Linked DNA regions of Homo sapiens: all the other regions are linked to region 5. Evidence: promoter capture Hi-C in 16 types of primary human blood cells and fetal thymus (Javierre and others, 2016). All regions are on one chromosome and are shown on one strand. The core of a region is centred on a gene start or on the middle of the fragment in contact, and the rest is flanking DNA. Distances in the headings are between cores, read along the strand shown. Region 1 has its middle 84 kb from the start of CTH. Region 2 overlaps ANKRD13C (ankyrin repeat domain 13C). Region 3 overlaps ANKRD13C (ankyrin repeat domain 13C). Region 4 overlaps ANKRD13C (ankyrin repeat domain 13C). Region 5 holds the start of ZRANB2-AS1 (ZRANB2 antisense RNA 1).

Region 1 (6,140 bases), core at 1,077-3,576, 550 kb after region 5:
CAGCAGCTGAGTGAAGTGTACAGGAGATGACTATTTTGCAACTTCTCATAAATCTATGATTATTTCCAAATACAAAATTAGTGTTTAAATAATAGTTAAAATAATATTTATATCAACAGAAATGTTCATGTTTATCTTTAGTTTGTTAACATTTGCTTTTAATTTAATTCCTAAGAAAATAAGGATTTTCTATATGTTACACAAATATGGCTATCTTTCTATAAACTCTCTGATTTCACTTCATTCTGAGCTAAAAGTAGGATATAGCATTTCATTGACTTTCTCATGTTTTTTTAAAACTTCAATTTCATGAAGCATTGGTGAATAATATAAATTTTACTAAAATATTCATATGGGAAACATTGCATAGCAGGAGTTCTACTAATCACACACACACACATGCACACACACACACACACACACACGCCCTTTCTCAAGTCAGCATTCCCTGCGGTCTTTACCTGCTCATAACCCAGCTTGTACTCAGACACCATGCATCAATGACTGTGGCCCATGTATGGCCCAGTATAAGTCAGCAGATTTAGTTTTTTTCCCCCACAAGTAATCCAATCACACTAGTAAACTGTGTAATTTTTGTACTGTATGAAAGTTTCTAATTTTATTAAAAATTGAGTTGTTAGATGGATAATTTTATATGCCATATAGTCTTTAGCCAACTCACTAGTTCTGCCCCTCATACTTCACTTGCCTTTCCAAAGCCGAGTTTCCCACACACGTCCTTTCCTGTAGCCTGTAACAAACAGCCTGAGAAACATCATCTGTCTTGAACTCGTTCTGATATTTTTCTCTTGGGAAACAGCTCTGCCATGTTATGTGCCACTCCAATCACTCCTGTAATTAAAAAAACACACACACACACATTTTTCTCCATCTTATTTCACATATAATTCAAGTCTCATGAGTTAATTTATCAATTTAATTCAACAGGAAATATCGAACTCACAATTTTCACATGTGGCATTAAATCTCAAAGTAACTTTAGAGTTAACATGTCTATTCAGTAAGCTAAAACAATATTGTGTCATATATTATGCTATTACCTTAAGTTTTAAAAATGAGTAAAAACACATGAAGGGGAAATTATAGTATTTATTATACCACGTAGGCTGTGCTAGACACATTGATTTCTTTGCCCAAAGTATCCTGCTTTCATAAGAAATGATCTCTCATCCACATGGTTACTACAGGAGCAGCCATTATCAGAGCTGCCTCATATTATCTTACAAAAGTTGATTGTTAGCACCTCTTCCAACTCCACATTCAGTGATATCATACTGGTCTCTTGAAATCAGCCATCGTGAGAATATTTACACCTCAAATTAGCAAATTGGTGCACCTCCTCTCTCCTCACCCCAAGAGCCAACTGTTACACATTGTCACCACATCACTGCATTAACATGCTATGACTGTCCCTTAGGTTATAATTACTTACACAGAGATAGACGCCGGACTCCTGCTGAACCAAGCAGACCTTTTCATGTAATTTGTGAAACTGGAGCTGAGAATAAAAGCCAATTTCTCTCCAGTGGCAGACACAGTAATAAGTAAATTTTAGGAGATGTTGGAGAGGAAAAGGGGGATTTTTTTTTTGTCTTTAGATCAGAGAACTAGAAACAAAAAGAGAACAAAATAAATATACAGAGGTGAGCAGAGATGAGAGATGATGATATAACTTTGGGATATTTAAGTCCCTTCTATTTATTCCAGAGTAGCACCTGCATTTCTATCCATGGGTCCCACTAGACACTTCATTTTCATTAGGACAAATTCCTCTGTGCTAATCAAATTTAATTACAATTTCAGAACTGTTATCTGAAAGATTCCTAACTAATATTTGAGTCCTCAAATATATACTACTTTAATCTGAACATCTCTCAAAGCCTTTCATATAGTGGTAGCTGAAAAAGTTTTCTCTTTGCTTTGGCAGCAGTGGTGGCTATCGAATGGGAATTTGATTGCAGTGTTGTTTCTGTGAATCAGATGGAACTAATCCTACCTCTGCAATTTGATCTCTTATCATCTTTTTACAAAATAACACATTAATTTTCTCTTACTTAAAAATGTTCTTTTATCAAAAGTATTTTTAATTTTCTAAAATGTAAATAATGTCTTTTCTATGCTTGAAGTGTTACTCTTTCGTATCATAAACACACCATCTGGATTACTAAAAGGAGGGATAGTTTTTATAGCCCTTTTGCTCAGCTCAAAACTGCTGTTTACATAAAGTCATACTTACCCAAAGCCAAGACTATAGGGTACAGTTGTGCAGGTTGTGCCCTGTACAAAGGCATCTAGCCCTTGGTGTGAGTAAAGGCCAGCCATGGGGAAAGGTGCTCAAGGTCTCCAACTGTGGCAGGGGCCTAGCCACCTGCCTGATACTACCCAAGAGTGAAATTGCTCTCCTATGAATTCTTGTGACTCATTTACCATCCTTTATAGCACGTTCATTTTGCTAACTTTCTTATCTCCTTTATTACATAAAAAAATATTTTGAGGTGGGAAACTGCATTATACTATCCTTTCAAGTGCCCCAAATGAAAACATTTGATTTGGCCAATGAACACCTGACAAATGAGATAATGTGTTTATAAGTGAGACTTTACATGCCAAAGTAGCACAAATCTTAAAGTTTCTTATTTTATTTAATGTGTAAACTTCACTTTCACTACAACTGAAGAGCTCTATATTACAGCAATATCTATGAGCCAAAACTCTGAGCTAAATAGGCCATAAAAATGGTATAAGGAAATATCCAGCTTACAAAAGAGTAACACAGACACAACTTAACCCCAAACTGAGACCAAAATATAATTATTTATTTATTGAAACATGAAGTAATTTGCCTCTTGCATATATAAGTGAGCCAGATAAGGGAAATGAGCATTCTAATCAAACAGCAATGCAAGATTAGAGCAAATCAAAAGAGAGCAATCATTTGTGAATGGAGGTAAATTAATTCCATTAAGTATGCCACAGAAATCTAGCATTAAAAAATTCAAAAATTCTAGCTTTGTGAACTTGAAAGATATTTAGAATCATTGTTCTAAGTGTCATGAAGCAGAAGCAGGCTCCAATTCATGGCCTACATTAAAACCAGGATGTGTTGATTTAACTCCAAAGATTAGACTACTGGGAGCCATATAATCAATAACCTCCAGGGATCATATTTCAATATCTCTGCCAATTTAATTATCGTACTCAGGTGCCAGCTTTCTTGTTTTATATATATATAAATTTCTGTGACACAGCCCTCGGGAGATCCTGAGAACATGTGCTCCTATATTCCACAGTTTAGAGCCAAGAATTAGCTTGAATGCAGGTGCACAGAGTTAAATTACCTAGTTTGTATCATTAGAGTAGTTGAGAATCAAAGTCCCTAAAGTTATACCATATCAATTTCATTAAACAGTTGACTCTTCAACAACACAGATTTGGACTGTGTATGTCCACTTATACTGAGATTTTTCAACCAAACTTAGATTGAAAATCCAGTATTAAAGAAATGCAAAAGCTACCTATATGGAGGGCCAACTGTTTGTATATACTCAGGTTCTGCAGGACCCACTGTGGGGCTTGAGTATGCAAGGATTTTGGTATGGATGGGGGCCTGGAACAAATCCCCTGCATATATCAAGGGACAACTGTACTTAAAAGCAAATAAACATAAAAAACAAATAATTTTCCAAGTACAAATAAAAATTTTCCTGCAGGGGTCACAGCTGGGCCCTAAACTCAATTCCTTGATATGTGCCAGTCTGACACAAGAAGTAATCAATGGCTCATGGAGTCTGGTCCTACTTATCAAAGAAGTGGGTGAAGTTTCTCTATTATTCCTTCCTTCTTTCTACAGTCTTCTCTCACTGCTCACCCCTTTTTAGAGATCCTTCTTTTTCTAAATGCCTGGATTTTGATGCCCAGGACATGGAGCAAATCAATACATAAATGAATTCACATTAAGAGGGTAATGACTAGCTCTTTTTACCAAAGTTGCTAGTCTTGCGTCAGCTTGGCTCCTATAGAAGGAGCTCCCAGCTCTCTGAAGGCACCTGTACGTAGTCTGGAGTCTCTGGAGGTATCTTACATCTAACTCATCTGTAAGTGGCTGGTTCTGCCCTGCTCCAGTGGAGTCTCAGCAGTGTGAGAATTGTCAGGTACAGAATTAGAGGCAAACTGAGTGAGAGGAGATTCCCAGGACCCAGAAACACCCATCTCAGCATGAATAACACTTGGTAGTTTTTCTCTCTGTAACATTTGTCATCTTATAGGCTCAATTCCCGTGAACTAATTTTGTTTGAAACCCTACCCCTAACCTTCCTGCCTCTACCCCTACTCCCATAAAAGCAAAGTGTCTGTCCTTGCAATATACTAAGAATACCTTTTTTTTTTTTTTTTTTGAGACTTAGTCTCACACTGTCGCCCAGGCTGGAGTGCAGTGGCACAATCTCGACTCACTGCAGCCTGCGCCTCCCGGGTTCAAGCAATTCTCCTGCCTCAGCCTCGCGAGTAGCTGGGACTACAGATGCATGCTGCCACACCTGGCTAATTTTTGTATTTTGTGGTAGAGACAGGGTTTCACCATGTTGGGCAGAATGGTCTTGATATCCTGACCTCGTGATCCACCCTTCTCGGCCTCCCAAAGTGCTGGGATTACAGGCGTGAGCCACCGCACCCAGCCTAAGAATACATATTTTAGAAACCTCTTTCCTCCTAGGAAACTATGATCCTCAAGGAAAAGAACCAAGTCTTATTTTTTTCTTAATGCCCCATTTTCTGACATAGTACCTTAGATAATTATGTGCATAATAAATGTTTTCTGGCTGGGCACAGTGGCTCATGCCTATAATCTCAGCATTGGGAGAGGTCAAGGCAGGAGGACCACTTGAGCCCAGGAGTTTGGGACCGGTCTGGTCAACAAAACAAGACTCTGTCTCTACTAAAAAATAATAATAATAATAATAATGTTTTCTGAAATTTTGAAATCTCAGAAGTATTTGCATGTTGAGAGGGCAATACTTAATGTCTTTTTCACCCTTAATGCTTAATTATTAATCAAGATTTAGTTCAAATAGTCTCCTTTCTATGAAACTTTCTCTGGCTCCCTACAATACTTTATTCACACCTTCATTATGGCAATGCAATCTTTCTTACAAGTTGTTAGACATCTTTTTGCCTGACTAGGCACTGGGCTTCTTAGGAAAGAGAACTGTATGTACTTTATTACAATACAAAGAGCTCCCCAACTCTTACGTTGCCGGATTATAAAAGGCATTCAGTAAATATTTATAAAAGAAAAAGTGGAATACAAGGGAAGAGGGAGAGACAGTGGGAGGAAAAAGAAAGGAGAAGGGAGAAAGAAGGGGTGGGGAAGTGAAGGAGGAAGGAATTAAGAGGTTGTAATATTGGTTCTTTCAGGTAGCATTTGACATGGGAGGTGTTTAGGAAAAGGCAGCTTTTTCAAGGCTTTAGAAATCAAGTCATATTGCTAACTACTTATTATGTATAAAAATAACTTCAGTCTGGAAGTTGATTGCTCATTTAACTTAATAGAAAAATATATGTATTTCAAATGCGGAATTCTCACGATAAGCATTTTGAAATAAAATCTCTATCCAGTTAACTAAAATGAGATCACTTTTTAACAACACACAAACACACACAACTTGAGCAGACGAAGGCAAATGGATTAAATGTTTGGCAGAATTAAGTTGGTGTGCCTGCCTTATACCAAGGTACCAAAAAATATTTGTTAATTTAATATGAGAAACTTTTTGATAAAGCTTATGTGTAGTAATAACTGAAAATTGTGCTAGTGACATGCCATGGTAAAATGTAGCATTTCTATTTCATTTATAGGTTAGAAAATAATTTTCTCCCTTTTGCAGTTCTCACATCTCAAATTTTAAATTGACAATTTACGCTACTATTTGTTAAATGGTGTCACATGAACCAATCTCTTTTTCTATTTTTGTGAGAATGTCATTGGTACTTTGATAGGGATTGTCTTGAATCTGTAGATCGCTTTGGATAGTAAAGACATTCTAACAATATTAATTCTTCCAATCCATGAACATGGAGTATCTTTCCATTTTTTGGTATCCTCAATGTTTTTCATTACTGTT
Region 2 (5,743 bases), core at 2,566-5,065, 760 kb after region 5:
TATTATTTAATGTGAGGTTAAACAACAGGGGGTGAAAGAGGAGAGACCTATCAAATAAATTCAAGAGACATTTCCATTTTAATGGTGAACTAGATTTGAAAATTTAAAGTTTTAAAAGTCATTATAGCTGGGTGCAGTGGCTTACGCCTGTAATCCCAGCACTTTGTGAGGCTGAGGCGACCGGATCACTTGAGGTCAGGAATTCGAGACCAGCCTGGCCAACGTGGTGAAACCCCATATCAACTAAATATACAAATAAAATTCGTGGGCATGGTAGTGCGTGCCTGTAATCCCAGCTACTCAGGAGGCTGAGGCAGGAGAATTGCTTGAACCCAGGGGGCAGAGGTGGCAGTGAGCCGAGATCATGCTACTGCACTCCAGCCTGGGCAACAGAGTGAGACTCCATCTCAAAAAAAAAAAAAAAAAAAAAAAGACATTATAAATCAGTATTGAAAATTGATGCTTTCAAGGTCACAGCTGACAATATAAGAACAAATCAAGTGTAGAAATAGACATGTGCTATATTAATTTTCAAGTCACAGTGAATTGTAGGTTAGTAACTCAGATGTATTTAATTAATGACAGTTGTGTGGAAAGCATTATATTTTATCAGAGAGTAATGAAGGATTCTCCAGTGGCCTATTCTGAGTTGAGTGCCATAAGCTCAATTTCAGCTTCTGCAGGTTAAAAATGACATTTATTGGATGTCTTTCGTAGCTGGCTAAAAAAAGAAAACAACAGGAATGAAAACTGAATTCATATACACCTCAACAAAGTTTTCTTTCTTATTGATATTGGCTTAAAACATTGAAGTTGTTAGCATGGGCCTTGTACTAAGTACTTTCCATATATTATCTGGTTTAGTTATTGTAATGACCTAAAGAGGTGAGTGCCATTGCCCATTTTATAAAAAAGAAATTGAGGTTTAAGTAAGTTAATTTGTCTGAGTTACGAAGATAGAGAAGCAGAGATGGACTTTTATGTTAGGAACCTGACTGCAAGCCTGTTCTTGCTGTAAGTTCTTTGCTTCTTAGTCTGTCTTTGTTATAGTTTCTTCTTTCTGTATATTCAGGTATTAACACGTCTTAGCAATTCTTTCAAAATACTGGGAAGTTGAAGTCAGGAAAGAGTGGGGAAAACCTTAAGAAATAATCCTGGGAATATGTTATTGGTAAATGTAGTAAAAACTAGTAGAGCACATAATAGTAAAAAATATATTTTTGATTTTGGAGAATTATTAAAGTTTCAAAAATCTAGAAAATATATATGATTTCTTATTTTTTTCAAAATACATTAAAATTATATATTTTAAAGCCATGTTTTAATAGAATTTCCATTCTTAAAAATAAATGTCTATTCCTTTTTGGAATGAATTTATATGCTTTATTATAAATAAATAGCTTTTGGGTTTCTTCTTGTCCCCCATCCCCAGCCAAAATTTTATTTCAATTTCTGCAAGAAATGGCTTATAGGTAGTATTCAGAAGGAATTATTTGCCATTTGATTACTTTTACTGTGCCTCTTCTGCTTTTTTTTCTCTTCCTTCCCAGATGTGGTTCTAGTATTTAGTATATATTTTTGACAGAATTTTTGATAGCAAAATTTAAGTGCTCAGAAATTCTTAAATCATGGGTACTTGTTCTTGTATTTTTAGCTCCTTGTTGTAACCAGTTATCATTGGAGTAGGGAACAATGCTCCGTTTATACCTTAGAGTCATTGATAAAAGCACTTATACTGTGCCAACTATATGTTCAGAATATTGAGTTAAGCCCTATTCATGATTATGGATTTTTTTTTTCTTTTTTGAGATGGAGTCTCGCTCTTGCTCTGTTGCCCAGGCTGGAGTGCAATGGCGTGATCTCAGCTCACTGCAACCTCCGTCTCCCGGCTCCAAGCAATTCTCCTGCCTCAGCCTCCTGAGTAGCTGGGATTACGGGCACCACACCCGGCTAATTTTTGTATTTTTAGTAGAGACGGGGTTTCATCATGTTGGTCAGGCTGGTCTCGAACTCCTGACCTCAGGATCCACCCGCCTCGACCTCCTAAAGTGCTGGGATTACAGGTGTGAGCCACCGCACCCGGCATGGATTTTTTTTTCTTTATTTAAAAATCTAAAGAGGAATACATAATAAAATACATGAATATCTTAAACTTTCAGAAAGCTTTGCCATATAAAATATTAGAATAATAACAAACCTAGAAATAAAGTATTTCCTATATGCTTCAAGGAAAATAGTCATCAGAAGTTTTACATTTAATTATGAGGGAAAGGCTTGAAGGCATTTCAATTACAGAGCCAATTGATTTGGCAAAATAACTTAAAGAGTTATCTGGTATTGCACCAACCTTTATGTCTTCCTGTTTCATTAGATAGCCATGGCATCAGTATAGAGGAGGCACTGAAGGATTCAGCAAGAAGTGTCAGTATATAATAAAGGACTTTGAATCTATTTGGGATTCCTTGAAAAAAATAAAGGACTAATTTAAACTTAAACTAGAAAGACATTTTTAGAATATGATAATTGATATTTATAATGATGAGATAAAGTGCTCAATAAAAGGTTAAATTACATTGATTACAGTCTTTACTAAGATGGGGAATGTATAATGTACTGTTTAGAAAGAATTTATTTGGAAATGGTAGAAACTTACTTGGAAAAGTTATTACCTGAAAAAATATAATGATGTGACATGCCATGTTATCTAATCATATGACAAATGTGTCTTTACCATGAAAATGTTATATATAATATTTAAAATATTAATAGATAGAGATTTCAGTGGGTATGGGATTAGTCTTTGCTGTGGTTCTAGGTTGGAGCAGCAATCTTAAACGTTTCCAGCGGTTTCCCCTAAAATTAAAGGTTCTATTAAACGCATGTCTCTCTGCTTTCTAGCATATCACTAGATACTATTTTACCTAATGTTTTGCCACAGCATTTGTGAGGGTCATTAACTAGCTTTTAAGCCTCTTCGTCATTCTACTGATAAGCCATTGCTACATGTCATAGTATTATGTATAATCTCCCACTGTAAATTTGGAATTTGGTATTGGTTATGATGTAAGTTTGGCTGCTTATAAGAAATCTCAAAAGAACAGTGACTTAAACAAGATAAAAGATTATTTTTCTCTCATGTAAAAATCTGAGTTTGTGTGGTTTTTCTCTGCTCTGTGGGTTAATCCCAGACAACTTTTTTTCTTTTGTCTTCTCTGCCATTCCTAGGATGTGGCCTTGCATCCACATGGTATAAGATGATTTATATTGCCGGGCGCGGTGTCTCATGTCTGTAATCCCAGCACTTTGGGAGGCTGAGGCGGGCAAATCACGAGGTCAGGAGATCGAGACCAGCCTGGCTAACATGGTGAAACCCCGTCCCTACTAAAAAATACAAAAAATTAGCCGGGCGTGGTGGTGGACACCTGTAGTCCCAGCTAGTCAGGAGGCTGAGGCAGGAGAATGGCATGAACCTGGGAGGCAGAGCTTGCAGTGAGCCGAGATCGCGCTACTACACTCCAGCCTGGGTGACAGAGCGAGACTCCATCTCAAAAAAAAAAAAAAAAAAGATGATATGTACCAGTTTCATATTCCAGCCAGCAGGAATAGTAATTCTTTTTTTTGAGATGGAGTCTCCCTCTGTTGCCCATACTGGAGTGCAGTGGCATGACCTCAGCTCACTGCAACCTCTGCCTCCTGGGTTCAAGCGATTCTCCTGCCTCAGCCTCTTGAGTAGTTAGTAGAGACGGGGTTTCACCATGTTGGCCAGGCTGGTGTCGAACTCCTGACCTCAGGTGATCTGCCCGCCTTGGCCTCCCAAAGTGCTAATTAGAAAGGAGAAGGCATTCCTATTCTGTTTGAGAGCCCATTCTGAAGTTGTACACATCACTCTGCTCACATTCCATTGGTTAGAATTTAACCCGGGCATGGTGACTCATGCCTGTAATCCCAGCACTTTGGGAGGCCAAGGTGGGAGGATTGCTTGAGCTCAGGAGTTCAAGACCAGCCTGGGCAACATAGTGAGACTCTGTCTCTACAAAAAAAAAGTAAAAACAAGCTGAACATGGTGGCATGCATCTGTAGTCCCAGCTCCTCAGGAGGCTGGGGTGGGAGGATCACTTGAGTCCAGGAGGTCATGGCTGCAGTTTGGTGTGATTGAGTTACTGCACTCCAGTGTAGGTGACAGAGCAAGACCCTGTCTCAAAAAAAAAAAAAAAAAAAAAAAAGAATTTAGTCACATGATAACACCTAGCTGCAAGGATTTCTAGAAAAGGAGTCTATTCTAGGAAGTCATGTGCTCATCCAAAAATTTGGAAGAGAGGTTCTTTCACAAAGACTAATGGGAGAACAGATACTGGGGAGACAACTAGCAATCTCTGACATCTCATCAGTGAGTACATAAACACTGGTAACTGTCAACCAGATATATACCTTTAACTCTATTCTTCCGTCATATCACCACATCTATAGTGCTTTTGCCTACCTCTACTTGGATAAACATAGATGTCTAAAATTTAGTGTGTCTAAATCAGATAATGCTTTCTTCCCTCCTTCCTCTTTTCTCTGTCTTAGGTAGTAACACCATTATCTCCTTATTTACCCCAGCTGGCAACCTGAAATTTCTTCTTAGACTTCTTAGCTTTCCTGTTATCTCTATATCTGATCAATCACAAAATCCTAAGGATCTCTTGAGTCTATTTAGTCTATTTTCTGTCCTTCCATTTTTAAACAACATGCCCTTATCATTTCTCATTTGGATTACTGAGATAGCTTCCTAAATACACTGCCACCAGAGTAATCACCCTGAAATAGATTGAATCATGTAATGGCTATGCTCAGTAACTAAAATGTATACAGTACTTGCTATGCGTGAGGCACTATTTTAAGCACTTTACATTTAACAGCCCATTTTTATCATCACAGTAAACCCTCTGAGGTTATATAGTTGACAGAACTGAGGCAAAAGAGGTTGAGTAATTTGTTTGAAGTCAGCTAGTCATTGTCGAAGCCAGAATTGGATCACTCTGGCTCCACAGTTGGTGTTTTAGCTACTATATTGTATTGCTCAAAATATTTGTCCATTGCTTCCTGAGTAAAATGTGATCTACTTCATATGTAAAACCCTTTCAGGCTACTTTTTCTCTTCTGTGTCTGGCCACTTTTCTCTTACTACTAATCTTCATGTATACTACTCATACAACTAGACACACTACACTTGCAATTTCCCAGTATGTCATGCTTTCTCTCACCATTCTGCTTTCCCCAGTTCCTTCAACCAGTTCTTTTGTTCTTTTTTAGACTCCTCAATTCAGGAGTCAACCAGTCCACGTCTTTTGGCTACCCTAGTCTGTCATAAACCTCTTCTGTGCATGTTTATATCATTCTGTAGCCCCTGTCACCCTCAATTATATCATAGCCCCTGTCACCCTCAATTATAAGTATTTACTTTTTGTGTCTCTTGATAAGCTTCTCAAGGAAAGAACATTGTCTTTCATCTTGCCTGATACTAAAAAACTCTGTTTCCTTTCTTTCCACATCCCTCGGCTGCTACTCAGAGATCATCAATGACTTCTAACCAACAAAATTTATGGCTTTTTCAGGCTTCTTTCTCTTCAAAGTCTCTGTAGTGTGATATTGAAACAGTCTTTTCTTTTGGCCTCCATTATACCATAAGGGAAACTAAACTTTACCTCTTCCAAACTTAGTTCTTAGTTGAGATGGACTCTCGTACCAAAAGACAGATTTA
Region 3 (5,717 bases), core at 2,460-4,959, 700 kb after region 5:
TAGATGTGAAAAATTTCTGATTTATTCTGAGAAATTTGGCAGTTTCTCCTGCCTTTAATTACATTGCCTGGCAGGTGACAAGCCATCTTCTCTATATATGGTTAATTTTCATTTTTCCTTGTTAATTTTCATATTTACTTGTAATATTTTCATTGTAATATGTTCTTGAAGTTATTTCACACAATGTTAGAGATTTCGAATTTAAGTTAAAATTCAGTTGAGAATATTCCTGCTGATGCAGGTACCTCAGGGAAGTGACAGTGAAATGATTAATGTGTAAAATCTCTGCCTCATGGCTGGCAGATTTCTTTAGCCAGTGATTGGAAAAAATCTCAATTTCAGAAAGATTAAAAAGGTGCAGGCTGGGCATGGTGGCTCACCACGCCTGTAATCTCAGCACTTTGGGAGGCCAAGGCGGGTGGATCACCTGAGGTCGGGAGTTCAAGACCAGCCTGGCTAACATGGTGAAACCCCGTTTCTACTAAAAATACAAAACATTAGCCGGGCATGGTCGCGCGCACCTGTAATCCTAGCTACTCGGGAGGCTGAGGCAGGACTGGGAGGTGGAGGTTGGGGTGAGCTGAGATTGCACTATTGCACTCCAGCTTGGGCAACAAGAGCTAAATTCCATCTCAAAAAAAAAAAATGTGCATTTGAGGATTGAGAAGATAGGATAATCTATTTCATGGCCATACAGTATGTTTATTTTGGTTTATTCTGTATAAATCTCGTATCTTCCTTTTGATATTTTTTTCTCTACTTTTAGTCACTAAAACCTTCATGATGGGTGATACAAAAGAATAATATGTAATAGATCTCTTTTAGAAGAGGTGACTATAAAGCTAATCTCTGCATGGAAAAAAAAATTTTAGCTACTGGTGAACAATTTTAACCAGGAGAGGGTTAAAATGATGGCTTGTGTTTAAAAGAACATTAGTAGTTTTATGTTTGTTTGTTTGCTTTGTGTTTTGTAGGTTTCTTTTTAAATTTTGTTTTTGTAGGATAGACCTCAGTTTCCCTTAGGAAGAAAGTGGTGTCTAGAGGCTCAAGTTTATAACACATTAAAGTGTGTTATACCCCTTACCTGGGTGTGGGGGTGATTTGGTGGTGAAATGTTACTCCATTGATCAGGGTTGATTTAGTTGATCTTCATTATTAGATGAATGTCATCTTCCTTCTTTCTTGTCTTTCTTCCCCATGTGCATCTCCAACAGAGTAGGACTGTCCTTGGGTTAAGTGGCTGTGTTTCCTGATGGTGTCACCATTAGTACTATAGAACTTCACCCACTGCTTACAAATGTTGTGATAAGAACACATCTGCAGAGCTATGTCTTAAAAGGGAGGGAGGATCCTCTTCTCCCCTTTTCTGCACTGGGCTGCAATAGGAATAGAAATTCTTAGCTTTGGCAAAAAAGGTAGCAGAAATGGGTGATTATTGGTGATGTTGGGTCCTGGGCATCCTGAATTCTAGAGGACTCATTGGAGAATTGAGTTTTCGGTAGGATAGCTGCCCCAAGTTAATGCCATTCTTAAGTCATAGAAATCTACTTTAATTCAAGAGTACAGTGTAATTATCAGAATGCTTGGGTTCCAGAAAATGAGTGCAGTTCCTAGAGAATTGGATGGGGGCCAGGCAGACAAACAATATGGTTCTGTTCCTACACCATTTATTTTCTTGAGGGAGAGCTGGGTGATCAGTTTTAGAGCAACACTGAAGTATGTAAAATAGGGATAGGAAAAAGGGAAAAGGTCTTTCGCCTTTTCTGTATTGATCAGATCTGAGTTTGAGACCATGCTTCTCTATGAACTGCCTTTTTTTTTTTTTTTTTTTTTTTTTTGAGACGGAGCCTCGCTCTGTCACCAAGGCTGGAGTGCAGTGGCGCGATCTCGGCTCACTGCAAGCTCCGCCTCCCCGGTTCACACCATTCTCCTGCCTCAGCCTCCCGAGTAGCTGGGACTACAGGCGCCCGCCACCACGCCCGGCTAGTTTTTTGTATTTTTTAGTAGAGACGGGGTTTCACCATGTTAGCCAGGATGGTCTCGATCTCCTGACCTCGTGATCCACCCGCCTGGACCTCCCAAAATGCTGGGATTACAGGCGTGAGCCACCGCGCCCGCCCGACACAATTTGATTTTAAAAGGCTCACTCGGGCTGTTGTGTGAGGCAAGGGTCAGTATAAAAAGCTACTATAGTTGGGGGAAACTGTGAGGGTGATAAGAAGATAGAGCTGATAGAAGTTGATGCTGGATTTGATGTCAGATGATATGGTGTGTGTATTTTAGTAGTATATTAGCATTTTTGAGAGAGAATGCAGAAATTATCCCCTTTTACTGCTTGCTTGGATCAGACTTGAAGGAGTCTGTAGAACCTGGAGCTCTGTACTAGTACTTGCAATTTCCTGCTTTGTTCTATAGTTAGGGGGTGCACAAAGTCGCAACTATTTTTATAATATCTAGTCATTGCTTGCCTTTTTCACTGCAGACATTTTCATTGGTGGTTCAAAAGCACTGGTGAGTAAAATTGTTGACATCTTAGTGCAAGTCAAAGTAGCAAACTGGGCTGGTAGTCATTGTATTGTTCACTGCCATGCAAATTAATTTTTAATTTTTAAAAATTAAAACAAGGCCATTTTACTTAATGTTTTTGATGAAACTGTAAAAATTATGAATTTTATTACATCCTAATCTTGAGTACATGCTTTTTTGGTATTTGTGACATAATTGGGATTGTGCCTTTTGCTCCTCTGCTGCATACTGACTGGGTAAATAAGGGAAAGCATTGTTAAACTGAGTGGGGAAGCCAGGCACAGTGGCTCACACCTGTAATCCCAGCACTTTGGGAGGACGAGATGGGAGGATCACTTGAGGTCAGGAGTTCGAGACCACCCTGGTCAACATAGTGAGACCCTGTCTCTATTAAAAAGAAAGAAAAGAAAAATAGAAAAAAAAAGTATTAGAAAAAAGTTTGAGGGGTATTTGAGTGTAAGCTGAGCTAGCCACCTTTTTCATGGAACACCATTTTTACTTTAAAGAACAGTTTACAGACAAACTATAGTTAATCACAGTTTGAATATATGGCAAATATTTTTTGGAAAATAATGAAGTAAACCTATGACTTCAAGGAAAACAAGTGACAGTTATTTGTTGTGAATGAAAAAATTGAAGCTTTCAAATGAAAAGTAGAAATTTGAAGAACTTATCTCTACCATGGTAAGCTTGATGGGTTCCCAGTACATAAAAGACTGTTCTAGTCAGATTGGAGGTGATATTGCCAAATACGGTTTTTTTGCTATTGTACAGTGAAATATGTCAACATTTGAAGATTTCCATAACCTGGTCAACCGGTGTTTTTCAAATATCAATGCATGGTGTTACAGAATCATGCATCAGTACAAGATCCATTCAAAGCACAAGACAGACCAATATATTTCAGTGTAATACAGTACAAAAAACTTATTTATATGATTTTAGATTTCACATTGCAATCTTTTTTTTTTTTTGAGACGGAATATTGCTCTTCTTGCTCAGGCTGGAGTGCAATGGTGCGATTTCGGCTCACCGCAACCTCTGCCTCCTGGGTTCAAGCGATTCTCCTGCTTCAGCCTCCCGAGTAGCTGGGATTTCAGGCATGTACCACCACGCCCGGCTAATTTTGTATTTTTAGTAGAGACGGGGTTTCTCCATATTGGTCAGGCTGGTCTCAAACTCCCTACCTCAGGTGATCTGCTTGCCTCGTCCTCCCAAAGTATTGGGATTACAGGAGTGAGCCACCGCGCCCAGCTGTGCAACCAACTTTTAAGAAGTGAATTTTGGTGTGTAGCAAAGAAAAATATCAGAAAAGGTTATTAAAATACTCCCACTCTTATCAACTGTGAATTTGTGCAAAGCATATATAAAAACCTAGCTGCTGTCTTCTGTTAAGCCAGACATTAAAGAAACATAATTTATTTTTATTTTTAATTAAATAATTTAAATAGACTGCTCATGTCACTTATTTGTTTTGGAAAATGTAGTTAATTTTTTCATAAGAAATTTTATATTAACACGTAGTGAGTATTATAGTTCTAAAATTAATACATTTAAAATTTTAAAAATCTTAATTTCTAATATGATAAATATCAATAGATATATCTATACAAAAGGTTTTGTGATCCTTAATAATTTTTAGAAGTATAAAAGGAGTCCTGAGATTCAAAAGCTTGAAAACTGTTAATACAGTAAAAAGAATATAAATTTTTGTGTCATGAACTGTCCCAGTTTCTAGGTATGTAATTTTGGAAAATAACTATTATTAGGTCTATTTTTCTTCTTGAGAAATAGGAATAATATTTGTTTCATAGGATTATTGAGCAAATTAAATGAATAAGGTATCAGAAATATACAGCATAGTGCCCAACACATTTAATAGATACCCATTAAATGCCAGCCATTCTATTGATTATTTGCATTTATTCATTTTTTTTTTTGAGATAGGGTCTCGCTTTGTCATCCTGGCTGGAGTGCAATAGTGTGACCACGACTCTGCAGCCTTGACCTCCGACACTCAGGCAATCCTCCCACCTCACCCTCCTGAGTAGATGGGACCACAGGCATACCACACTACCATGCCCAGCTAATTTTTTTTTTTTTTTTTTGAGATGGAATCTTGCTCTGTTGCCCAGGCTGAGTGCAGTGGCATGATCTCGGCTCACTGCAACCTCCACCTCCCGGTTTAAGCAATTCTCGTGTCTCAGCCTCCTGAATAGCTGGGACTACAGGCGCCTGCCACCACACCTGGCTGATTTTTGTATTTTTAGTAGAGATGGGGTTTCACCTTGTTTGTCAGGCTGGTCTTGAACTCCTGACCTCAGGTGATCTATCCGCCTCGGCCTCTGAAAGTGCTGGAATTATAGGCGTGAGCCACCATGCCCAGCCCCCAGCTAATTTTTAAAAATTATTGTTTGTAGAGACAAGATCTCCCCATGTTGCATGGACTGGTGTTGAATTCCTTGGGCTCAAGCAATCCTCCCGCCTCAGTGTTCCAAACTGCTGGGAATACAGGCTGCAGCCACTGTACCGGCCAGTGTTTTTTGCATATTTTAAAACTAAAGTTAGCCTGGTGCGGTGGCTCATGCCTGTAATCCCAGCACTTTGGGAGGCTGAGGTGGGCGGATCACTTGAGGCTAGGAATTTGAGACCTGCCTGGCCAACATAGTTTTGCTAAACTCCATCCCTACTAAAAATACAAAAATTAGTCGGGCATGGTGGTGCACGCCTATAATCCCAGCTAGTCAGGAGGCTGAGGCACAGGAGGTAGAGGCTGCAGTGAGCCGAGATGGCATCACTGCACTCCACCCTGGGCAATAGAGAGACTTTGTCACAAACAAACAAACCTACCTAAAAGCTAAAGTGGTCTTAATATTACTGGATGTTTTTCACTTGTTCGACAAAACAATTCGATTTAGTTTACCAAGTTAGAATGAAGGTGTTCAATTTCAGATTTAAAAAGTACATTATGAAAAGTTGATAGCAAAGTTTATTTTATGTTTTTATTATCCTTTGTGTAATAAATTAGCTTAAGCAGCAGGTTGAGGACATAGAAAACTGAGGAGATAGTAGATGGAAGTAACTAGGATGTTGGAGCACTTAGTTTTATGATATAGTTGGTGAATACAGTAAATTCACTGTTAGCCAGGTGATCGTGATGATGATTTTGCCATTTAAAATATTGAATTAGC
Region 4 (6,088 bases), core at 158-2,657, 750 kb after region 5:
TTTTGATGATAAATTCTATGTAACCCTAGTTATTATTTTCATGCAGCATGTGAGGCATGTTTTATTTCTGTTTTTCCTGTCTAGGGAAACCAAGAATACCAACTCACTTTGCCTTGTCTGTGATGAGAACTGAAAAACCTACAGAGTAATGAATTCTTACAGTTGCATTAGAAATTCAGTAGCCAGGGTGGATTTTTCACGGAGCCTTAAAGGAGCTTCCTGGGGATGTGATCAGCATCCTTTGACAGCAGGGCCAACCAGTTTCTTGGCTTTAGGACTGTGTGTTTTGAGCAGCCATTAGCTGGGGTGATCCTGATCTGGTGATTTATAAAGCCATGTGCAAGACTGAAGCACGTCAGTGTATTGTAAACTTTTTATTTTCAGTATTTTTCCTAATTTCGGCAAGTAGTGCTTTGTGGAATACTGTTTGAGACCAGCGCATTAGGCTAGACCATGACAGGTCCAGGTTACCAAAGAGAACAGTAAACACACAAATGTGTGAATCCATGAGTATTAGATACAGAATGATCTGTAAGGTTTCCAGGGTGTGGAGATATTGGTTGGGAAAGAGAGTATTAGTCCAAATCTGAGAAGTCAAATACAAAGGCCAAGAATTTAAATGGTTTATCAAGTTGAAGGATAAAGCAAGGTTTGGTATCAGATGGTTAGGCATAAGGTTACGGGTGTATATCAGAAGAGGAGTTCTCAATTCCAAGAATGTGGTCCATCCATTGCTGTCTGGTCTTAAATACTCTGCTGAGCTAGCAACCTGGTCTTAAAGGGATCGAATAATGTCAGACAGGTCTGTGTTCCTTTTCTTCCTTCCCCGTTCACTTTTATTGAGTAGCTACAGTAAGGGAAATGGTAGGAAACAAGGGAGCAGAAAGGGAAATACCCCAAATATGGGGAAACATCTTTTTTTCTGGGTCAATGAAATATGTGTGTGTATATATATATGTGTGTGTGTATGTGTATATATATATATATATGTGTGTGTATATATATTCAGAAAATATATATGTATATTCAGAAAAGTGAAATATAGCTAAAATGGATTATATCTTTAAGTAGTTTTGTTTTTTAATAGAATATTTTAAATTTAGTTTTTATCTATAAATTTGTTTTTATCTATAAATTTGACTTTGCAATATGGTATTAGCATCTTGGTTTGAGTTTAAAAGGAACAGCTTATTTAATTATTAGTGAAGTTTTATCAAAATTATATTTGTCAGAGTTTATCATCTACCCATGTTTCACAGGCTTGACACAACTCTCATAGACTTTACTGACATGAAGTGCCAACGAGGGGATCTAAGCTTCATTTTCAATGGGGATGCGGCGCCCTCTGAATCTTTTGTAGTATTAGACAATGAACAAAAAGTTTATCAGCGAATACATCATGAGGTGAGCATGTTGTCTTATCAATATTCCTTTAAATCATTAAAAAAAAAGTATAGGTTTTTAGCAAAACCTCAGTATAATTTGCTTAAAAGCTTAAGGTATAATTGAGATGGTTTGTTCCTAAAGCTATAGTTTCCTGACCACTAGCTTTCTTTTCTTTTTTCTTTTTCTTTTTTTTGAGACTGGAGTCTCGCTCTGTCACCCAGGCTGAAATGCAGTGGCGTGATCTAGGCTCACTGCAACCTCCGCCTCCCAGGTTCAAGCAATTCTTCAGCCTCAGCCTTCAGGGTAGCTGAGACTACAGGCGCCCGCCACCAAGCCCGGCTAATTTTTGTATTTTTAGTAGAGGCTTGGTTTCACCATGTTGGCTAGGTTGGTCTCAAACTCCTGACCTCAAATGATGCACCCACCTCGGCCTCCCAAAGAGCTGGGATTACAGGCGTGAGCCACTGCGCCTGGCCTATTTTCATTTTTTATATTTCTATCCTCTGGTCTCCATCTTGACCGGTCCATTGAGCCTGCTGAGAATTCAACTGATTATCTCCTAGATCAATGAACTCCAACTTCTCTTCATTCTCATTTATAGTTTTCATTTGTTGAACCTGTGCTGGACCTTTACCATGTATTATCTTTTTATCTTACCTTCTTTTAATGTTGTTGACCATCTTTATTTTATCTCCTTAATATGAATACTTCTTTTGGCTCTGTCTGCAGTCTTACTTTTCCTAACTCTTTGGCTACCTTTCCTTTCTCTGTCCTTTCCCTCTTCAAGTACGACATGATTTTCCTTCTCTCATGCCATATCTTTGTGTTAAAAAACCATTGATATGCCCTTGATGTGGTTCTCATTTTTACAAACTGCCAGAATAATCCCTTCCATTCCCACAGTCCTATAGGTTGATGATTTACAAATATATGTTTGTGTCCATACAGTTCTGAGTAGAGGCTTATCTGTTTAAATGCCTAATGGATATCATGTGTGTCTCCCAGGTACCTCAAAATTCACCTTATTTAAAACTAACCTTGCTACTTTTCCTCCAAACCTGCTCTTTTTCCTGTTTTTCCTCTTTTGAAGAATGATGTCATTCTCTATTCAGTTAGAAACCTAGGAGTTATTTTTGATATCTTTTCTTGTACTCTGTGTTTTCTCATCAGAGCACATATCTGGTCATTTCTTTCTCCTTAATGTCTCATTATTATTCCTCTTTTATTCACACTGTCACTACTGTAATTTAAACATTCATTATTTCTCAACTGGACCATTGGAAAGTCTTATAAATGATCTTCCTGGCTCCCTTCTCATCTGCTTCTAAATTATCCCACATGTTGGAGATACATTAAACTTTAGAAACACATTTATGAAACCTTAGTTACTTAGAGATACTTAAAAAGTTCCCCATTACCTAAAGAGTGAAATCTAATCTCCTTAGCACGGCATGGTTCCTTTTGTCACCTGAGTTTTGCTCACCTTTCTAGCCTTTTTCTTACCTTACTATTTTAGATACCCTCATACTGCACTCTTGGCAGTTTGTCAGATGTGCCAGGCTATTTGGGCCTTTATTCCTTTGTTCATGTTCTTTCCACTTCCTGGAATGCTTTTCTTTTTGCACCCTCACACCTGTAGGGCATGCACTTGGTGTTACTTTCTCTCCCACCAAATGACTTTTGTTGTCCTTATGTTCCTATTAAATCTGGAACCATAAAGCTTCTAATGTTACATTTACTGACATGGCTTTTTTCCCTTCTATTGGTCTAAGCTCCTCAAGGGCGTGGGGTTCTTTTTGTTGTATTCCCTGTTATCTAATACAGCATCAGTACATTCTACGCTATAGGTTGGTAAACTCTTTCTGTGAAGGAAGAGATAATAAATATTTTTAGATATTAAAATATATTTGTGGGCCATATGGCCTCTGTCACAACTACTCAACTCTGCTGTTGTTAAAAGCAGCCACAGACAATATGTAAATAAATGAGTATATTCCATTATCATTTTATTCATAAAAACAGGCAGCTGATTATAGTTTGCTTACTCATATGTGAGCCTCTCAGATATTTATTAAATAATTTGACCTCTTACTTATGAAATGACAACAGGATAGCCAACTAGGCAATAAGTGAATTGGAAATAGGGTCTTGAAAGAGAAGCTAGAAGTTAAGGCTAGTAGTCCATAAGTATTTGTGGATGTCATAGTATTACCAAAGAACTGGTATTAAGGGTACCAGTTTTAAGGTATTAAGGTATGTATGTACTAGTATTAAGGTATGTATGTATACATACATATATGTATTATGTATTTTATAATGCCTACAATACAGGAAAGATAAATTTTGAGCAGTATTCCTTAGGGCAGAGAATACTTGTTGTTTATCCTAATATGTATGTATGTATAAGTAATAACTTCATTAAATGTTGAAGCAATGTAATTAATTAAAACAGCAGATCTTTTTCAGTGATGTGGTTAAGAGATAGTCTCTGATTTATATAAGAATTCTGTTCCAAAAGTTTATTGAAAATAGGATGTTTGAAATGTAAGGCAAATTTGCTCATAGACAATGGGTTATACAGTGTTCAGTTTCCAAGCTAATATATAAAATTCTACTTGATTCATAATATATTTGAAGTATAGTGTTTAACAGTTCTGTTTAACTACTGCAACCTAACTTTTTTTTAAAGAATATTGTGTTCAGAATTAATTTGGGTTACCAGGAATACATTTTCACCTATTATGGCTTTAGCAGTAACACCAAGATTTTGCATTCTTTACTTGTAGGGGTAGAGGAAATGGTACTGTCCCAGGCCCAAGCCATTGCTATTTTTTTGTTTGTTTGTTCTTTGTTTTTTTTTTTTTTTGAGATGGAGTCTCTCTCTGTCTCCAGGCTGGAGTGCAGTGGCGTGATTGATCTCAGCTCACCGCAACCTCCACCTCCCGGGTTCAAGTGATTCTCCTGCCTTAGCCTCCCGAGTAGCTGGGACTACAGGCGCGTGCCACCATGCCCGGCTAATTTTTTTTTTTTAGTAGAGACGGGGTTTCACCATGTTAGCCAGAATGGTTTCTGTCTTCTGACCTCGTGATCCACCTGCCTTGGCCTCCCAAAGTGCTGGGATTACAGGCATGAGCCACCTAGCCCGGTCGCCAATGGTATTGTTTTTGGAAATTCAGGAAGGGACTATATGGGCTGGGCACGGTGGCTCATGCCTGTAATCCCAGCGCTTTGGGAGGCCGAGGCGGGCGGATCACGAGGTCAGGAGATCGAGACCATCCTGGCTAACATGGTGAAACCCCGTCTCTACTAAAAATAAAAAAATTAGCCGGGCATGGGGGCGGGTGCCTGTAGTCCCAGCTACTCAGGAGGCTGAGGCAGGAGAATGGTGTGAACCCGGGAGGAGGAGCTTGCAGTGAGCTGAGATTGTGCCACTGCACTCCAGCCTGGGCGACAAAGCGGGACTCTGTCTCAAAAAAAAAAAAAAAAAAAAAAAATCAGAAAGGGACTCTATGTAGGTTAAAGTTAGATGGTGAAGAATAGAAAATGGGCCTCTTGGGAACCTAGAAATAAGGAGGTTTGGAGAATGAAGGCTCTAACTATTGTAAACCCTAGGGACTGTTATTATTCTCCAGACAACTCCCTAGGTTTTGCCTTTTTTCTTCCTTATAACGTCTTAAATATTAGTTAGGGTATCTTTCTTGGCCTATTATGGAATAGAATCTCATCTTATACCTGCTCACTTACTCTTCTGTACTTGATCATTTAGTCTTCTGTCCCTGAAGCAAGCACAAAACTTTCCTTTTTTCTCATATAAAAAATAATTATTGCTCAATTATTATATACCAGCACTAGGGAATATGTACAGGATAAAACCTGAAGCATGACTACTCATTAAGTTTAGAAATTACGGTTGATATTTATGGATTCCTTTCCATTTTATAAGGAATACAGAAAAGATCCTTTCTTGCTTCTTTTCCTTCCTTCCCTCTCTGCTGCTTCCCTTCTTCTATCCCTCCCTTCAGTTCTTCCTTTCTTCCACTTACAATTTATTGGGAAAGAAAGGCTCAAATGACAGTGGTGGATCTTTGCATTAAGAAGAACTAAAGTAAGATTAATCTGTATTGAAAGAAAAATATCCTTTATCTGGGTTTTTTTCTCAGATCTGTCAAGTTAATTCTTAAAGTTGTTTTTAAAAATTGCTCTATGGACTATACAGTTTTATAATGGGTAATCTAGTACTGCTTCCATTACATATCTATAACAGGATAATAGTACCGTATTTCATGTGTCCTGCTTTTATAGATTCATAATTAGTCATAATGCTAACTTAGAGAAGATATTAATATGTACAATTTAAACATCTAATTCTTTTTAGAGTAAGTAACACTTCACATTATTTAGAAACTATCCTTTTTGTCTTTAAAAATTGGTACCATTATAATTGTTGATATTTTCATATGTAGTACTAAGAACTTTTGAAAAACCTAGATTTTTATATTTAACTTTTGCTCACATCCCAGGAATCAGAGATGGAAACAGAAGAAGAGGTGGATATTTTAATGAGCAGTGATATTTACTCTGCAACTTTATCAACAAAATCAATTTCTTTCACGCGTGCCCAGACAGGATGGCTTTTTCGGGAAGATAAAACAGTATGTGCAAATCTAGATTTTTAAACTTTAAGCATTGTTCGGTATTTAAT
Region 5 (5,663 bases), core at 1,296-3,795:
TGTAAAAAGGCAAAAAGCAAAAAACACAAGACTTTCCCAAGATTAGGGGAAGATGATCTCACCGTTAATATTCATCTGCTGAGAGCAGTTATGGGACCCATGTCAGGAATACATGCTTCAAATAAGATGGGACTTGAGAATTGCTGAGAGACTTCAGGAACATTCTTTAACTTCATGGGGCCTCAGTTACCCCACCTTTAAGGGAAATAATAATAGCAATAGTACCTTGGAGGATTTCTGTGATAAAATGAGAAAATGCTTGTGAGAAGTACATAAAATATTGGCTTACTGAAAGATGTTACGAGGCAAGCAAGTATGCCTATTTTCATTCAATGTTTATTATTTCAAAGGCAAAGTTTCCATATAGATTAAGGCCTTCATAACATCTGAATACCTTTTCTAGTTCTTATTGTATGAAGATAAGAAGGATGGTTGGAGGCTTTGTAAGGAATACCTTTCTCTTCTGCTCCCCTCTCACTCCCATAGGCTGGGAGCAGTTGATTTCACTACCTCAGATATGCAAATTGATGCCACCTTCCTGTAGCCACTTTTGCCATAGCTGACCTTTTTGTTGGGTGGTGGGGAGGGGAGCGGGCAGGATTAGGCGAGGGGTAGTAGTTGGGATTTCTTGGTCTTGGAATTCAACCATCCGATGTATTTGTTTCCCTGTGTCTATTCCCTTAAGTCTACAGGCACTGTCTAGTAATTTTATAGTTTTCAGCGGCACCCCAGGGGACAGGACACCTTGGCCTTTTTATAATCACTCTAGAGTCACAAAGCAGAAAGGAAAAAAGTTAACGATCAGCTATGCAAAGGCTTGTGTGGATTGCTTAAGGACAGGCGATTTTCACTTTACCAGAGTTACTAAAGGACTTCAGGAGAAGGATCCCGTCCCTGTAGGAGCGTTTGTGGTTGAAGAAGCAGGAGGACGAGCGCTCAGGTGCGCCTCGGCAGTTTGCCTGGGGTCCGCAAGTCCAGTGCTACTTATTAGCTGCTTGCCGTCCACCGACACTTTAGCGGAGAACTGGAGGAGACCCCAGTGGGCTCCCGGTCCGGCCAGGAGCAGGGCGTTTCAGAGGAGACCGTCTGGGGCTTCCCAACCCAGGCGATCAGGATAGGCAACAGCCAAGAGAGGCGCTCAGTTGCTTTGCACCCTCCTCCCACCTCGGTTCTGTCCACACCCACGGGCGCCCCGCCCCCTCGGCCTTATAAAGGGGACTCGGCACCTCCGCGCGCCTCGCCACCAGAGGTTTCCCAGAGAGGAAGGCGTGGCTCCCTCCCGGGCCAGTGAGCCCTGGCGCCGCCGCGGCCGCGGTCCCAGCAGCGGAGTAGGGCGGCGGCTGCGCCCCGCACCATGGGGGGCAGCCCAGCCCCAGCCGCGGTAAACGCCGACCTCCGCCGCCGCCCGCGCCGCGTCTGCCCCCTCCCGCTGCGGCTCTCTGGACGCCATCCCCTCCTCACCTCGAAGCCAACATGAAGGAGACCCGGGGCTACGGAGGGGATGCCCCCTTCTGCACCCGCCTCAACCACTCCTACACAGGCATGTGGGCGCCCGAGCGTTCCGCCGAGGCGCGGGGCAACCTCACGCGCCCTCCAGGGTCTGGCGAGGATTGCGGATCGGTGTCCGTGGCCTTCCCGATCACCATGCTGCTCACTGGTTTCGTGGGCAACGCACTGGCCATGCTGCTCGTGTCGCGCAGCTACCGGCGCCGGGAGAGCAAGCGCAAGAAGTCCTTCCTGCTGTGCATCGGCTGGCTGGCGCTCACCGACCTGGTCGGGCAGCTTCTCACCACCCCGGTCGTCATCGTCGTGTACCTGTCCAAGCAGCGTTGGGAGCACATCGACCCGTCGGGGCGGCTCTGCACCTTTTTCGGGCTGACCATGACTGTTTTCGGGCTCTCCTCGTTGTTCATCGCCAGCGCCATGGCCGTCGAGCGGGCGCTGGCCATCAGGGCGCCGCACTGGTATGCGAGCCACATGAAGACGCGTGCCACCCGCGCTGTGCTGCTCGGCGTGTGGCTGGCCGTGCTCGCCTTCGCCCTGCTGCCGGTGCTGGGCGTGGGCCAGTACACCGTCCAGTGGCCCGGGACGTGGTGCTTCATCAGCACCGGGCGAGGGGGCAACGGGACTAGCTCTTCGCATAACTGGGGCAACCTTTTCTTCGCCTCTGCCTTTGCCTTCCTGGGGCTCTTGGCGCTGACAGTCACCTTTTCCTGCAACCTGGCCACCATTAAGGCCCTGGTGTCCCGCTGCCGGGCCAAGGCCACGGCATCTCAGTCCAGTGCCCAGTGGGGCCGCATCACGACCGAGACGGCCATTCAGCTTATGGGGATCATGTGCGTGCTGTCGGTCTGCTGGTCTCCGCTCCTGGTAGGTAGTTCCAGGGTTGGGGGAAGTCAGGATGCGTGTGCGAGTAAGCGGGAACCTAAGACTTTGCTAAGTGGCAGCACCCGCAGGGGTGTGTTTGCAACCGCAGAGCGCTGAAGTGTCCTTTCCTCCTGCCCGCGCGGTCTTGGTTACAGCTTCAGAGCTGAGCTCCTCACTTACTAGCTGAGCGCCTTCCAAGAGCCAGGATTCGCATTAGGCACTGTTTATGAGCACATAGAGATCACAGGGCTGCTCACATTCTAGTCGGGTAGGAGACAGGATGTGTCATTGAAATGACATATATGCAGAGCTAGAAGTTTGTCCTGAGTGCATTAAAAGCAGAATTGCTATGATAACTGTAGCCTGATATTGTGGGGTTTTTTTTTTTTTTTTTTTTTGAGACGGAGTCTCGCTCTGTCACCCAGGCTGGAGTACAGTGGCGCAGCCTCGGCTCACTGCAAGCTCCGCCTCCCGGGTTCACGCCATTCTCCTGCCTCAGCCTCTCCGAGTAGCTGGGACTACAGGCGCCCGCCACCACGCCCGGCTAATTTTTTTTTTTTATTTTTAGTAGAGACGGGGTTTCACCGTGGTCTCGATCTCCTGACCTCGTGATCCACCCGCCTCGGCCTCCCAAAGTGCTGGGATTACAAGCGTGAGCCACCGCGCCCGGCCGGGTTTTTTTTTTTTAATTTCAAATTCCTCTTTCACGTTAATAAGATTTTCAGTCTGCAACCCCATACAGTCACAGCCCTCCTGCAGCTTCTGAAAGACTGCGCGACCTATGGGTGCCTTCAAGGTTCATTCTTGATGAGGCAGGAGAATGAAAGATACGAGTTGCCTCCTCAGCCTTTCGCCATGGTGCTTGACCCTCTAGGAAGTGCCCGAACGACAGTCAGTGGGATCCGGAAGCTCAGCAGCTTCTTCAGGCCAGCATTTACTTACCCTTGTAGCACTCAAGCAGGGTTCGCTAATCCTGAGATAGGAGGTAGAGGTTTCTCCATGTCCTAGCTCCTCACACCAGAGCAATGCAGAGGAGCAAGGGATGTTTGCAGAGGCTCTTTGCCTAACACCTGCCCTTACGTGATATTTTTGAGGTTTTTTTGTCTGTGTTACTTTTAGCTAGAAATGTCCGTGTGTAAGTGCTGTTTACTAATTCCTGAAGAATGGATGCTTACTTAGGCCCTGGGGTGTCTGGGTTAATAGATGTTGCAGAAAGAGCGATATGGTCACTGTTACAAAGGTATAACCAACTATATGTATTATACAGTTGTGGAAAACCTTTGAAACACGTGAACGCAGTTTTTTTTCTTTCCTAATTATGGTAAAATATATTACATACAATTCAGTATTTTAACCATTATTATGTGTACAGTTCAGTGGCATTAGGCATTAAGTACGTTGAGTTTTTTGTGCGCCATGTATACTTTTAAATCCCTTGCATTTGAAAATAGAAATGTAATTTCTTTAACCTGGTTTGGTAGATTGGAGCACAAACCTTGGCTCCAAATCAGTGACATGAGGGGACAAGGAGTGTTATGCTGAGACCTAACTGCCCACAAGTCGCTGTATGGTCACAGTTCTTTATTCCAGGAGTTGGAACTCAGGCTGATGTCATCACTATGGCTTATCAAAACCAGCACCAGTTTTAGATATACAGTATTTACTTTTATGGCTGAGGAATGGAGTGTACAGGTGGCCAACTAGGAAGGAAGAAAGAGTTCTAAATAGTAAACACTTTACTAAAGTGTGGTAATTAATATAACTTTAAAGGCAAACAGGGTATCAGTTTTTCACAAGTGTCATTTGAGTCCCACATCTTTGAGTTTGCTGTATCACATGATTTATATCCTAGGGAAAAAAAATGCAGTTAAATCAATTGAACAAAATACCCATACAGTTAATCAGACTTATAATTTATTGTTTGTGCATTTTGTTTTTAAGTCAAAGCGAAGCCATGTAGTGTGTTTTTGATTTAGACACTTTAATTCTAGTACCAAAAGTATGGTGGCCTCAGAAAGAAAGTAGATCAATCTTGAAAACTGTAATTTAGGATGGCCAAACTCACTCTTTCAAGAAAGACTGCATTTGAAACTAGTCTTACTTAATTTCAATTTATTTTCATTTGGATAATACTTATTGATTTATAGCATTTTACTGGGTACTTTATTAATTCAATTATAAAAACATTAAACAAAATAAATTAAACATGTGATCATATCAAAAAGGAGAATTTTTTTTTTTTTTGAGACTCTGTCTCAAAAAAAAAAACTCCAGGCTGGAGTGCAGTGGTGAGATCTCAGCTCTCTGCAGCCTCCACCTCCCAGGTGCAAGTGATTCTACTGCCTCAGCCTTTGGAGTCACTAGGATTACAGGCGCCCGCCACCACACCTGGCTAATTTTTGTATTTTTAGTAGAGATGGGGTTTCACCATGTTGGCCAGGCTGGTCTCGAACTCCTGACCTGAGGTGATCCGCCCACCTCGGCCACCCAAAGTGCTGGGATTACAGGCATGAGCCACCGTGCCCGGCCTAGGAGAAATGAGAACTTTTTAAAGAAAATGGTTCCATCGGCTGGGCGCAGTGGCTCACGCCTGTAATCCCAGCACTTTGGGAGGCCGAGGTGAGTGGATCATTTGAGGTCAGCAGTTCGAGACCAGCATTCCAACATGGCCAAACCCCGCCTCTACTAAAAATACAAAAATTAGCGGGGCATGGTGGCATGCGCCTGTAATCTCAGTTACTCGGGAGGCTGATGCAGGAGAATTACTTAGGCTAGGGAGACAGAGGTTGCTGTGAGCCGAGATCACGCCACTGCACTCCAGCACGGGTGACAGAGCAGGACTCCCTCTAAAAAAAAAACAAAAAACAAAAAAAAAACTCCAAATATCTTCAAAAAGATTTACTGTACAAAGTTGGAATTACTACAAAGAAAAGAAACTGGCAAAGCTGCTTTCTTAATAGAGAATTATAAGAATAAAAACACTAGAATTTAGTGAATTGAATTTTCAGCATATTAGTGTTAAAATGAGAGATTAACGCTGTTTTTTCTAACTATGAGTGTAATATAGGTTTCCTGCTAGCATTCGTTAAGTTGGGTGTAGGATACTATTCTAATTGTCCAAACTTCTTACTTGAAAGGACCCTGAGTATATCCTGGAAGACTATCATGACTATAATAAATATTCAGTTGTTACTGCAGGAAAACTTGGTAGTACAGAAACACCATAATAAGAAAATGTCCCAACAGCTACAAGTTCACACTACATAAATACTTAAATAGAGGTTTATGTATCCTTA

The links. The method cuts DNA at HindIII sites, captures the fragments that hold promoters and counts their contacts. A CHiCAGO score of 5 or more calls a contact.
Region 1: a fragment that was not itself captured here is called in contact with the fragment with the promoter of ZRANB2-AS1 in region 5 in 2 of 17 cell types (megakaryocytes and erythroblasts); the score reaches 8.3 in megakaryocytes.
Region 2: a contact is called between a fragment that was not itself captured here and the fragment with the promoter of ZRANB2-AS1 in region 5, in 1 of 17 cell types (total CD8 T cells). The highest score is 7.2, in total CD8 T cells.
Region 3: a contact is called between a fragment that was not itself captured here and the fragment with the promoter of ZRANB2-AS1 in region 5, in 1 of 17 cell types (total CD4 T cells). The highest score is 5.3, in total CD4 T cells.
Region 4: a fragment that was not itself captured here is called in contact with the fragment with the promoter of ZRANB2-AS1 in region 5 in 1 of 17 cell types (total CD8 T cells); the score reaches 5.8 in total CD8 T cells.

What each region holds. Positions count from the first base shown.
Region 1 is chr1:70,492,582-70,498,721 of GRCh38, reverse strand. No RefSeq gene overlaps it. Among named protein-coding and RNA genes, the nearest start is that of CTH, 84 kb to the right of the region's middle. The HindIII fragment of the contact is 6,948 bases long and covers 1-5,800 here.
Region 2 is chr1:70,279,877-70,285,619 of GRCh38, reverse strand. The region is part of intron 9 of ANKRD13C (ankyrin repeat domain 13C); the gene reads left to right. Among named protein-coding and RNA genes, the nearest start is that of SRSF11, 61 kb to the right of the region's middle. The HindIII fragment of the contact is 3,300 bases long and covers 2,166-5,465 here.
Region 3 is chr1:70,343,213-70,348,929 of GRCh38, reverse strand. All of the region lies in intron 1 of ANKRD13C (ankyrin repeat domain 13C), which reads left to right. Among named protein-coding and RNA genes, the nearest start is that of ANKRD13C, 8.7 kb to the left of the region's middle. The HindIII fragment of the contact is 983 bases long and covers 3,218-4,200 here.
Region 4 is chr1:70,296,080-70,302,167 of GRCh38, reverse strand. It overlaps ANKRD13C (ankyrin repeat domain 13C), which reads left to right. Exons shown (of 13, transcript NM_030816.5): 7 at 1,260-1,404; 8 at 5,907-6,038. Among named protein-coding and RNA genes, the nearest start is that of ANKRD13C, 56 kb to the left of the region's middle. The HindIII fragment of the contact is 177 bases long and covers 1,319-1,495 here.
Region 5 is chr1:71,043,388-71,049,050 of GRCh38, reverse strand. ZRANB2-AS1 (ZRANB2 antisense RNA 1) reads right to left here and starts at 2,545. Exons shown (of 3, transcript NR_038420.1): 1 at 1,462-2,545; 2 at 63-237. PTGER3 (prostaglandin E receptor 3) reads left to right here and starts at 1,235. Exons shown (of 4, transcript NM_198719.2): 1 at 1,235-2,370. The coding sequence starts at 1,474. RefSeq lists an enhancer at 1,238-1,821. The HindIII fragment of the contact is 6,286 bases long and covers 1-5,663 here.